Linked DNA regions of Homo sapiens: all the other regions are linked to region 2. Evidence: promoter capture Hi-C in 16 types of primary human blood cells and fetal thymus (Javierre and others, 2016). All regions are on one chromosome and are shown on one strand. The core of a region is centred on a gene start or on the middle of the fragment in contact, and the rest is flanking DNA. Distances in the headings are between cores, read along the strand shown.

Region 1 (3,332 bases), core at 532-3,031, 240 kb after region 2:
GTTATAGAAATGCAGAAGAGACTAAGACACCTAACTCACATCATTAATATAATTATCACAGAATTACTCAGACATAAAGATAAAACATTAACCTTTAAGATTTTTAGAAGGGAGCAAAGGGAAAACTTTTTGACATAGAGTAAGGCAAAGATTCCTGATAAGCTACCAAAAACAGAGTCCATCAGAGAAAAAAAGATAGTTAATTAGACATTATCAAAGTTAAAATCCTTTCCTCTAAGAAAGATAATACTCAAAGAATGAAACAAGCCAAACACTGGAAGGTTATATTTTCAAATCATACTTCTATTAAGTAATATACATCCAGAATCTGTAAAGAACCAGTAAACCTCAAAAATAAGTAAAGCAACAACTGATTAAATAAATGAACAAAGGTTGTACCTAGACACTTTGCCCAAAAGCGGCATATGGATGGGAAATAAACTCATGAAAGGATCCTCAACATCTTTAGTTATTAGGGAAAGTCAAATTAAAATCACAATGACATACCACTAAAAACCTATTAGAAAAGTGAAAATAAATAAACAAAGTGACTAAATCTAATGCTAATGAGTACACAGAGCAGCTGAAATGTTCATTCATCAGTGGTGGGAATGCAACATGGTGCATCTGTTAGAAAACCATTCGTAGTTTCTCTTAAGGTCGTCACAATTTAAGGTATTTGCCTACAAAAATAAAAGCTTCTGCTCACACACAAAAACTGTACACTTATGGTCATAGTGGCCTAAGGATTATTCTAACGCTCCTCCTCTTCTTTTTCTGTAGAGATGCTAAGGGCACTTATAAGTCTCAGTCTTTGATGTCAGTCAAATAAAAGTCATGATTTTTAATTACGATTTTGCCCAGAAGTAATCATGTAACCAAAAACAAGGCATCTAAACAGCAATCTCTGTTTTTGAGATATTATAATAATTACAGGTAGCATCATGTAAGCTATTTTATTCTGATATAGTGGCTTCTCCAGGAGCCTATCTATAATTCAAGTGCTTTAATAAAGACATAATTATGAAGTCGTTTATACACAGACCAAGGTGCTTTTGCCTTGCTGTCTTTGGAGGCTTAATATTCTATTCAAAATTTTACATCACAAATAACACATTCCACCAGGCCTAAAAGATCGGGAACTTTCTTCTCCCCTCCTTTTCTAACAGTGCCTGTTTGACTTTTAGGTACAATCATTATCACACAGTTAGTGACTCCAGAAATGCCTGTCAAAAAATATATTACACACACACACATAGTCTGCGTAGTTACGTAATTTTAACATTATGATATACATGGCCATATAATGCATAATGCTCTGTAATCTTTCAGATGAAATCACTTTTTTTTTTTTTACTCAGCACTACTTTCCTCTTAGCTCACTCCAATTCATTGCCCTTATTTGTTTCATGTTTATAACCTACAACACACCCTCCCGTATGTTGTTACGTGCTTATATTATCTGACAACTGCAATATGAGTTTCTAATACCTTAAAATGAAAATACCTAATGAAAGCCACAAAACCATGAGTGATTTAGTTGTCTGCAGGTCCTCCAGCCCTCAGGTTTAACCTTTCTTTAATATCAGATAACTTATGCCTTCGTCCTACTCAGAAAAATTCTATGATCACCATAGTATTTGTAAGGCCTTCCAATTTAGAGAAAAAGGAGTCATAGGTAGAAGCTTTAATTTTCCATTGTTCTACTTTCTAAGTTCCTCTTTCCTAACTTGAAATCCAATTGCCACTCATTATTTTTCTGGTTGAAGTTTCCTTTCTTTCCCTTCCTGGTTCTCCACAAATATGACCATAGATTTCTCACATTCACTCCTCGAAACATTATTTAATGTATAGTCGTTTTGGATTACAAATTTTATCAAAGCTTTATGCTAATAAAATATAGTTACAGTAATTTACAGAACAGATACAAATTCAGACTGAGAATTTAAATTGAGAATTTCAGATGGTTTCTAAATCCTAATTGATAATCCCCACAGAGGGACCTCTTGTATATTGGCTATGTGTCTCTTTGGATTCTTGCCTAAATGACAAATTGGTAGGCTCTTTTCTCTCCTATGCCTCTATTCTCTGAGTTATAAACACCAGAAAATATTTCAATATACTTTTTGATTTTGTAAAATACATCAACTCCCTACTTGAGCCAATCAATTCGCAACTACCCCAGCTTAATAGATCTCCACTTTCACAATTTCACCCAAAAACACAATTTCCCAGAACAAAAAACTAAAGCAACAACCATCCTGAGATTATTTATCATCTAGAAACAAAGTGCACTCAACTGTCCAAAAGAAATGTTTTCTCATATAGTATCTCGTGTTTAATAAGTGAAATAATAAAGCATACCAGAAAAAGTAGTAGACTTGAAATCAGGAGTCTATTAACTTATTTTTTTAGGCTTTTTTATAAAGAAATTGTGTGACTTTAAGGGAATCATTAGCATCTCTTAGTTTCAGCACCTCATAGATGCAATCAGTGTATACTGGTGATCTATATAAGCTATTTGGGGTATACCAAGGTAAACGTAAAATTAATGCCAAAAGAAGCTTCATGTGTAGTATTTAAAACTGCAAAGTGGGCTGTATTTGTTAAGTCTTGTTGAACCTTGTCTGTCTGGAAAACGCTGACGTTTAAAGGATGCATGATGCTGCCCAGTGGAGGATGGAAAGACGAGTAGAGACAGGTTGTCAGGCTCTTACATGCAGCGGAACATTGTTATCCTAATTTTACTTTACTTGATCATTTGAAAAACCAATCATCTTTTCTAGAAGAAAAAAGGAAGTCCATAATGACAATGGAAAAAGAGAAAAACTTTCTTTATTATTACACAGGAAAAATGATGAAAAGGGGAAAGATGTGCAAAGGGTGAGGGGAAAAATCTACTATAAAAAATTGGAGACAAATTGACAGGATGATACTCAACTAACCATCATCATGATAACAAATAGGAAAAATTATTTCCTCCTCAATTATTATAATAAAATACAGAGAATCCCCATCCTGTAACTACATACACAGAGAAATGTTGTTTATGGCAAAAACATTCTCCTACTCAGAGATTTTCCCATGGCAAATTTAACATCTTTCCTCCTTAAGCTGTAGATTAAGGAGCTCATCATGGGAAGCCCATTCATATAAAAAACAGAAGAGAATTTTCCCTCATCCATAGACCCAGCAGAAGATGGTTTGAGATACATAAATGCACTTAATCCAAAGAACAGAGAAACAGCAATTATGTGGGAACTGCAAGTGCTGAAGGCTTTGGACCTTCCCTCATTGGAACTGATGTGGAGGATCCTGGAGAGGATGTCACC
Region 2 (3,210 bases), core at 94-2,593:
CTCTAAGCCCAGCAGGATCAGATGATGAACTCTGCCCACGTTTCCAGCTCCTCCCTTTTGTTGCTCAGATGTTTCGGCCAATGGAAAGAAGGCACAGTCACAAGGAACAATACCAGACATGATTTCTCTCCAGAGAAAAGGATAATTTCCTCTCATAATTAGTTCAGTACATGTAAAAAACATGGTTGTAGGGCCTAGTACTGATAAAATAGAATTTGTGCTTATATTATGCTTTACTATATATGCATATATTACATGCATGTAACTGTATATACATGCATGGGTGTACATATATACACATATATACATCTATGCATGCACATCCATGTATATAAATGTGTATGTGGGTGTATATATATAAAGTATATAAATGTGTGTGTGTGTGTGTGTGTGTGTGTATATATATATATATATATATATATATAAAACTTTTATAGCCACTAAGATTCATTAGATCTCACAAAAACAATCAGTGGAGGTTTGTCATTATCCCCGTTTCAGATGAGAGAACAAATAACTTGGGGAGAGTTATTTGTATATAACAAATATCTCACAAAAACAAGTATATAACCAGTATATAACAAGTATATCCACAAAAAATACATCACAGAGACCAAAATCAAGCTGTGTTTTCCATATGTATCATGTATTCTTTATCCTATAGATTCTCGACAGCAATATGACACTTTAAGTCTCAGATTTAATAGGTTGTTTTGAAATAGAGAAGCCATGGGGACCTTGATCGCTTCTAATGTCCTTTAGCCAGGTAAATGAGCATAGACATTCTCAGTTACTTACATCGTTAACCCAAACATTTGGTTTCAGGATCCCATAAGCGACCCATGACAGGAAGACTTGGGCTTCCCTGGCTAGAGCTTCTCTCATTAGAGCAGATGTGTGTGCCTTGCACTATCTCCTTATCTTTCCCCCTGCTGTAGGGGAGGGGCAACTTGGGGGAAAATGACTCACATTAGAGATAAGGTGTCAATGATATAATCTCCATAAAGCTTTGATTAACAGGGCCCAGGACACAGTAAGCCTTTGGCAATTAAGCTTTTACAAAAATATGCAGTTTTTAATGTCATTGTTGTTGTTCCTGTTGCAGCATTTTCCCTTGCCCTCTTTGCCTGTTCTCTGATTGTTCCTTAGCAAAGAGCAAAGAAAAAAACCAAACGTTCCAAAGTCGAAGACTTTTCCTTTGATACAAACAAGCGAAAGTTCGATTATTTGTTCAATAATTTTCCGTTGATCCCTTAGTCTTGTAGTCGCTACTTTATAACCGGTCCCTAGAAGGGGGCGGTTCTTTCCGGAAATTATGACTGCAGCTGTTTTCACTCCGCTGTGACTCAGAGCGCTCCGGGCTGCAGGAGAGGAAGGTAGGGGACCAAGCTACCGGTGCAGGGCCTGGATCCAACCCCTGCTCTGGAAGACTGAGAGCTCCACATTCTAGCTCCCTTTCCCCAGTCCCCAAATTTGTAGGGGCTCCTTGAATTGCACGCCCCATGGGTGGAGGATTTCATCCTGATGTATGATCCCCAGGAAGGTTCCTGCAAGTTTGGCAGTTTAGGGGAATCTTTTGGAGGTTGAAGGAGGGATTTAGCCATCTCCTAATCTCAAGGCCCTTCTTCCTACTTTCCTTCTCTTTTACTTTACTTTTTTTCCCGCTTTCTTTCTTTGATATAGACAATTGATGTTTTCTCAGTTTCAGGATAGTGTAAGCTGAGGAAATGAGGCTGTAAGCCTCATCTACTCCAATCAGTTGCAGCCCCTAAGCCCTTCTCTATAGAAATGTAAGAGACCGACGCAGTCTCTTCTGTAAATACGTGGACATTGGAAATCTAGGACTGAATGGAAAGGTTAAATCAATCTCTGATTTTATCCAAGCCCCACTTCTTACCCCAAATCTCCTCCTTGTCTGGTTCCGAGTTCTCCACTTCACCCCTGCCACAGGCCGCAGGGGTGTGTGTGGCCGGTGGTGCCACCCAGCTCCCCTCCCACCCTCCTAGCTGCTGAGCGGCTGGTGCTGGGACTCTGCATTCCTGAAGCAGCTACCTGGCTAGGCCGGAAGCCTTGTATTCTCCCAGCTGCCTCAGATTCATGGCTTTCAGCTTGGTGGCCAGTCTCTACCTAAGCCTTGCAAGTTGCCTTTCTGAAGTGCCATCCTGAGAGACAGAACTAATTCTGACCCAAACTAATTTTGTTTGTACTGGGAAGAGTGGGGGCAAGGGTGCAGAATAGCAAGTTTTCCTCAACGGAGGATTTGTTCTGAGCTTAGAATCAGGAAGCGAAGGCTATTTCCTTGTAGGGGTGCCCTTTGCGTCTCTCTCTCTTTTACTCTAGCCACCTTGGTGAGTATTGCCCAGCCTGAGAGCTTCTCTTTCAGCTGTTTTACTCCTGTGTGAGTCTCCTGCTTTAGGCTCTCTGCTTAATGTGTTATTAGAAATTCTTCCCTCCCCCAGCCCAGCCTGTTCTACCAGAGAACTTGCCCAGGTCAGAGGTCTGCGTAGAAGCCCTTTTCTGAGCATCCTCTCCTCTCCTCACACCTGCCACTGTCCTCTGCGTTGCTGTCGAATTGTGAGTCATTTTGCCACACTCAGTTTTTATCCAATTTCTCAAAATAAAAACAGATATGGAATGAAAAGCCTGATTTATTGGTGCTGTTTAGTGGGGGTGCAAATGTAGGCTATGTGCCTATATAATATTTAAATATATTAGAATATCTTGGATGGATACAAACAAATATACTCGTATCTTTTAATTTTGGGTCCCAAAAGAAAAGCCACAAGGTAAATGGCCTGTGGCAGGAGTCCATCTTGAATCACACAGCTTCTCACATGCAGCGCGTCTCTGAATGCCATGATCCAAAGTGAATGGTGGCAGAGGTTTATTGATTAACAGTAACAACAATAATAGGGACAATAGTGATGTCTGTCATCATTGATTAAATGCCTCCTATGGCCCATGTGCTATTGTAGGGACTTCACATGTATTAATTCACATACGATGTGTGGATATTATACTACTCATTTTGGAAAGAAAATACTGAGGCTCAGAGGGATTAGTGACACCTACTCCATATGCCCAAGGAGTGGTGAATTAAATACACTTTTGAGAAAGTGGAATTGGTATTTGAACCAGCCTCAGGGTGTTTCAGAGATTTCCTGTTTAGTAGATACCAGTGAATCTTACACCTTCCCCACCTGGGACTGC
Region 3 (3,386 bases), core at 798-3,297, 190 kb after region 2:
TTATTTTGCAATATTTTATAGTTTACAGTTTATGTGTAACTTTTAACTGTAGTGATCCCAGCAGGCAGCTGTGGTTCCTGACCTCTGACAATGTAAGATTTTAACTTCCACTGGTGCATATACAGAAGAGTTGTTTACAAATAAGTGAATAACTTTAGAAGAGCACAGATTCATTCCCCTGGAGATCATGCTGCTAGTGCTAGGCCCTAAGCAAAAGGCAAATGCCTCAGGAAAGGCTGTCTTCTGAAAAATGTGAGCAAAGTGAGGCTCCACAAAGCCCTGGGTCCTATAATCCTAAGTAATTGTAGGCTGGATAGTTTGAGCAACCTTAGCAACTGCGAAAGCCACTTAAGAATCAGAAAATATTGGTGCAGCTTAAAATTGAACACAAAGGGGAAGCTTTTTTCAAGAAAGTCATGATATGATTATAGGGAAAAGAGAATATTTTCATATAAAGGTATTTTAGACACAGGGGATGGGATAATAATTGGTTATTTTCACAGTTTTCCAGCTTGTCCACATGCTTGAGGGTTAACTCTCACCAAATGGTCTCAAGCTCTCCCTGGATTTGTTAAATGTATAAGTTCTGAGCAGGGCTACAAATACCCATCTTCTAAATTGGAGCTTTCCCTTTAAAGGGGTGGTAGATTTCACTCATGAACCAAAAAATAAAAAATAAAAATAAAAATAACGGGGGAAGAGGGTCTTAGCATAAAAATAATATTGCATCTAAATATACTGAGAAAGAGAAACAGTTCAATTGAATTATTGCAAAGCTAACAACTAAGAATACAGTTTTAAAATCTGGGTTTGGAACACCCTGTTTCTAAGAATCAAATCTGCTTAGAAAATAAAGTGATTTAGAAAGAATGCTTCAGTTTTATAACCCTAACAAGAGCAGAAGAAAAATGAGACTAAAAGTAAAATAAGTTAATTAAACTGGAATAAGAGAGAGAAGAGGACAGGTTAGAAAACTATGTGGCACCAAATGATAATTTGAAGGTCAGGATCCTGGATTCAGAAAAGTGTTAATTGCACTATTAAAGCTGCTGAAAAAGAGTAAGTACTATGTGTCCCCCTCAAAAAGATCTTAAGGAATGGGAGGACTTGAGAAGATATAGGCACTGTATCTGAGAAACTCTAAGATAACATTAAAAAATATTAGAGCAAGGCATACAGAAGAGAAGATGTATTAAGGGGAAGGTGAGCAAGGCCACGGTAAATGTTTAGGACCTGGTTCAACAAACTGATAGGAAGATGTATTCTGGGTGAGATTATCAAAATGTAGGAGCTAAAGGTAGACAAGCTTTGTTAGAACAGTAGGATTTTGGTAGATACAAAATTTACTGATTTCTTATTTCTTGCTTGGAATGATTCTTTAAGCTAAAATCTAGAGTATTAGGTTGTAAAAATTATTTTGGCAAAAACAAAGAAAAAGTAAAGGGAGAAAGGCAACTAATTTCAGCAAACACTAATGGTTTAATATGTGATATAGAGTGAAGAAAACTAACTTGATATGGAAGTTAAAATGCTAGAAATTCAATGGAATATTCCTGGGAAGAAGAGAAAACAGCTGAGGGATGCAGAACAGTAGAGGCATCTTATTACTACCCAGCAACATACAAAAGCTAAAAACAAAAACAGAAGGAAATGTTACATGAGACCTAAGACCTGTGAAAACCCAAGAAAAGCATTGTATACAGAGCTCTTGGTACCTACTTTTACTGTAAGGTCACATGCTCAAAAACATGGACCACAGCTTCAGTTCAGGAATCTGCAGAGGACAGTTCTCCAACTGAAACAAATGTGGGGGTTATATCTTCCCTATGAGGAAGGTTTTTCAACCTTAGGCAACTCCATTGCAATAGATAGTGAAAACACATGGTCAGAGGTCCCTTAGTGTAGAACTGTGGTGTTAAAGTAGATATACAAATACAAAAAAAACAAAACCAGATCCATGAAGAACAACAAGGAAATGAAAATAAAGAGATTTTTAATATACTGAGTAGAAAAAAAAATAGTAAAAGCGATTCGAATAAGACCTGCTGACTAGAATTGCCATTCTTGTTCTTAACTTTTTCTTTTCTTTTCTATTCTTTCCTTTTCTTTTCTTTTTTCTTTTCTTTTCTGTTCTTTTCCCTTGTGTATTTGTCTAATTCCCTGAAGAATTAATAGATATCTGGGATCAGGCTAACATACCTCTTAGCATTCATATCAGTGGACAACTCAGTACCTCCCACATAGCAAGTATTCAACAAGCAAACATGGGATATTAGGAAGAGAGGACTAACATTGGAGAAAATCTGAATTCTCATGTCTTTTCTATCACAATTGGTAAAAGAAATTAAAACTACCTAGACCTTAGTTTTCCTATCAAAAGATAAGAATGTTAATACCTGCTTTACACAATTCTTTTATTTTGTTGAGAAAGTTGAATCAATCATAGATGGGAAAGTATTTTTAAAATCTAGATATTATGTATGTTACAACAGAAGAACATGAAAATAGAAAAAAGGAATATATGTTCATTGGAACTATTCATTTTTCCCATCTATAAATCCCCCAAATCAGGACTCATTTTCCTACTAAGACCTTCCTTAATGCTTTCTTCACATCCTTATTCCTCAGACTGTATATTAAAGGGTTCAGCATGGGGATCACCGTGGTGTAGAACACAGAGGACACCTTCTCCTGGTCCAGGGAGTTACTTGAAGGGGGCTTGAAATACATGAAGGTAATGGACCCAAAGAAGATCACCACAGCCATGAGATGAGAGCTGCATGTTCCAAAAGCTTTGGACCGGCCCTCTGAGGAGCGGATGTGAAGGATGCTGTAGAGGATGAAGGCATAGGAGACAGCAACAGCTAGGGTGGGCACCAAGGTGTTAAACCCCGCAATGATAAAAAGTAGAAGCTCATTGAGGTGTGTGTTGGAGCAGGAGAGATTGAGGAGGGGAAGAACATCACAGAAGTAATGGTTGATAATGTGGGATTTGCAAAAGGACAGTTTCATCATGGCACTTGTATGAGTCAAGGCAGAGAGAAAGCCCAAGAAGAAGGCAGCCAGCACTAGCAGTGAGCAGACCCATGAGGACATGATCGCATTATAAAGCAGTGGGCTACAGATGGCAACATAGCGATCATATGCCATGGCAGTCAGGAGGTAACCCTCAGCCACCACAAAGACCACAAAGAAAAAGAGCTGGACCATGCACTCAGAGTAAAGGATTGTATTCTTCTTTCCTAGGAAGTTCACCAGCATTTTGGGAGTAATGACAGAGGAATAGCAGAAATCGACGAAGGACAAGCTGCTGAGGAAATAGTACATGGGGGTGTGAAGTAGAGGGCTGACTGCAATCAGGAGAATCATGCCCAGGTTGCCCACTA
Region 4 (3,012 bases), core at 225-2,724, 140 kb after region 2:
GTTTTATGAGTACATTACGATATTTAATACAGTTAGTAGAGGTCAATGAAAATAAAAACTTCCATGTCTTACAGTGCATTCATTTTCTAGAATAGCTGTAACAAAGTATCATACTCTGGGCAGCTTTAAACAACTGAAATTTATTGTCTCATAGTTCTGGGAATTAGAAGTCAAAAAATCAAGATGTCAGCATAGGTGGTTCCTCCTGAGAGCTCTGAGGAAAATTTCATGCCTCTTCCTAATGCCCAGTTATGGCCAGCTTTTCTTGGTGGAAGTGATTTTCTTAAAGTCACACAGCAAGTATGGAGTTAAGCTGAGATTTGAACCTAGGACTGTCCAACCGAATATCAGGATATACTGGAATTTTTATATCAAGTCATGAAATATTAGAACTGGAAGAGATGTTAAAAATGATTTAACCCAATTACTCATATTGTACTGTGTACTTGAAAAATATCTGCTCAGTGGTTACATAGGCTATGCTCTAACATTTCTGGTTGTAAGTCCTGCACATTAAGGTAACTGCTTCCATTTCTGGATGTATTTGTATGCTCTTCTTTGTTGTGAAACAAAATGTGTCTTACCATAGTTTCTAGCAGTTAGTATTACAGCAATTTCTTAGACATGAAGAAAATGAATTCAACATCTCCTAAATATAGGAATATGCTGAATATTTGAAGATAGCTATCATGTGTCAAACAGAGTATTACTGTGCTAGCTAAATATCTTCAGTTCTCTCTGACAATCTTCAAATGACAAAATTTCCAGAACATTTTTCTCCTGAAATTTTCCAGTTTTTCTATACCCCACAAAATTATGGTACTCCAAACTAAACAGTAGTCCAACTATTGTTGAGTGTTAAATAAGACTAAGCAATTCCATTTTCTAGGACCATTTTTTTTTTTTTTTGCAAGTGAAGACTAAAGATATATTGAGTCTTTTTTAAAAGTCACATTATACTGTTGACCAGTATTGAATTTGACTTTCACCACCTCAACCATGAAGTACAATAGTGTAGATCAATCACAGTCCACTGCTCCCCGGCCACAATGGAGGATTACATGAATTATATTTAGGCTGTTTTATTGCTTTCCTGCAAATATTCAATTTAGCAACAAAGGAAGATAGTTCATTGGTTTTGGAGAAGCTGTTGAAATATAAGCATGAGATCTGTCAAGCAGTGATTTGATTTATTATTTTAAAATTTCTAACACTAATATGAGTAAGATATAACTTTTCAGGAAGTGTCTTGGTCCTCTAAAATCAGCTAATAATAGTCTGGGCTGTGAACAAATAGTACTGGCTTGTAGTTTCTAAGAAATGCAGAATCTCAAACCGCACTCAGACTTGCTGGATCAGAATATACCTTTTCACAAAATCCTTTATTGCCAGTAGGCACAAATCTTTATTGCTAATCGACAAGTTTAGAATTGACAAAAATTCCCCTGAAGAAAAATTAGACAATTGGGTAAATGCCAACAGTAATTGCTTCTTTTCTCAGGAGCTTGTGTTCCCAGAGAAATGGAAATCCTTGGAGAATGTTTGTCTGCATGATATTTGGTACCTGGCGTATCTAAACCCAGGTTTAGCAATCAAAACTGCTCAGGCCACTGTAAAAGGGGAGGATGTGTGCTAGAGCTAGAGAAACACAACTGAAAAGTGACAACTGGAGATGCTGATCAGCGGTGCAGATTGATTTCAAAAGTGAGTGAGATGTCTTGTGCTTTGCAGTCTCAGGACTAAAGACTACAGAACGCTGGCTTGGTACCTATGACTTCCAACAGCAGCATTAGTGCCATTCTCCAAGTCAAAGACAGCAAGTTGCAAATAAAATTTGGAACTGAGGTTTCAGGCAAAAGAAAGGTGAGTGTGTTCATCTCACACTTATGATTTGATGCTATTAGGTCTAGAAGTAATCACTGTAAAAACTGTAGGAAATATTTGTGAATACTTTCGTTCATTCATTTAATCAATCATTTATTCTTAAAAGTACTTTTTAAACTTTCAGTGATTTGCCAGATATGGGCTAATACTGGGAATACAGAAGAGAGGATGTCTGATCCACAGCCTGGCTTACAGTACAGTTCAGTCTAAAAATGTGCTGTTTAGAAATTAGAATTTTCTGAGCATGCAGTAGAAAGGTCCAATCAATTACAAGGAATTGGAGAATGGTTCTATGATTATTATAGTTTTGAATGAGATATGAAAGAAAACAAATGTTTGCCAGACAACAGAAAGTGTAATTGGTAAGACTATTTAATGTAGAAGGAACAGTAAACAAAAAGTCAGACAGCTAAGTGAATGTGACAAATTCCAGGAACTGAATGAAGCCAAATATTTCTCTCACAAAGGAGGAAGATACAAGACCTAAGAGTAGAAAGAGATGAGAGATAGTGGATATTTGTTTTTAATCATAAGATAAATTAAGAAAATCTTTTCCCTAATTTTTCTGAAGATGGATCGTCATGCTGTGGTTAAATATATTTAATGGCCAGAAATAAATAGCCTCTTCCTTTTTTAAGATCTCAAGTTATTAGAATATTTTTATATTGATTAAAGGGTGTATTCTTTTTTAATAGGAGAAAAAGGCATACAAAATTTATTTAATGTGTATATACATGGAAGTCATACACTAAGTATGAAACCCAAGAAGGACCAGGTGGTTGAGGCTTAAATACTCTCTTCATGGAAGAGAGATGTGTGGACGCAAGAGGTAGACATTATTTTGTAAATGATTATCTTTGGAAGCTGGATGAGACGGACAAGTTATGGAAGGTGAGGGGTGGAAATGCATGGGGACACAGGTTGTCTTATTATGCAGATAAAGTCCCCCAGGTAATCTCTTGGAGCTGCCTTGAGAATAGCAGATGAAAAGTCTGTCTGTGCATGGTGATGACTCCCAGTCTCTTCTCTGGTGGTTAATCTTTCCTGGTTATCTTTCCTGGATTCCAAAGAAGGGGGTCTTAAGACAACTGCATTTCTTTGGGAAAGAAGCTTAGTTAGATAAGGAAA

The links. The method cuts DNA at HindIII sites, captures the fragments that hold promoters and counts their contacts. A CHiCAGO score of 5 or more calls a contact.
Region 1: a fragment that was not itself captured here is called in contact with the fragment with the promoter of VWA5A in region 2 in 1 of 17 cell types (total B cells); the score reaches 5.1 in total B cells.
Region 3: a fragment that was not itself captured here is called in contact with the fragment with the promoter of VWA5A in region 2 in 2 of 17 cell types (M2 macrophages and total B cells); the score reaches 6.2 in M2 macrophages.
Region 4: a fragment that was not itself captured here is called in contact with the fragment with the promoter of VWA5A in region 2 in 1 of 17 cell types (M2 macrophages); the score reaches 6.4 in M2 macrophages.

What each region holds. Positions count from the first base shown.
Region 1 is chr11:124,354,501-124,357,832 of GRCh38, forward strand. It overlaps the pseudogene OR8B5P. Among named protein-coding and RNA genes, the nearest start is that of OR8B2, 28 kb to the right of the region's middle. The HindIII fragment of the contact is 197 bases long and covers 1,684-1,880 here.
Region 2 is chr11:124,114,107-124,117,316 of GRCh38, forward strand. It overlaps VWA5A (von Willebrand factor A domain containing 5A), which reads left to right and starts at 1,344. Exons shown (of 19, transcript NM_001130142.2): 1 at 1,344-1,376; 2 at 2,460-2,574. The HindIII fragment of the contact is 2,481 bases long and covers 1,052-3,210 here.
Region 3 is chr11:124,307,266-124,310,651 of GRCh38, forward strand. OR8D1 (olfactory receptor family 8 subfamily D member 1) reads right to left here. Exons shown (of 3, transcript NM_001002917.2): 3 at 1-3,386. The coding sequence ends at 2,575. Among named protein-coding and RNA genes, the nearest start is that of OR8D1, 5.0 kb to the right of the region's middle. The HindIII fragment of the contact is 1,486 bases long and covers 1,305-2,790 here.
Region 4 is chr11:124,254,772-124,257,783 of GRCh38, forward strand. OR8G5 (olfactory receptor family 8 subfamily G member 5) reads left to right here and starts at 1,605. Exons shown (of 2, transcript NM_001005198.2): 1 at 1,605-1,863. The HindIII fragment of the contact is 3,035 bases long and covers 1-2,992 here.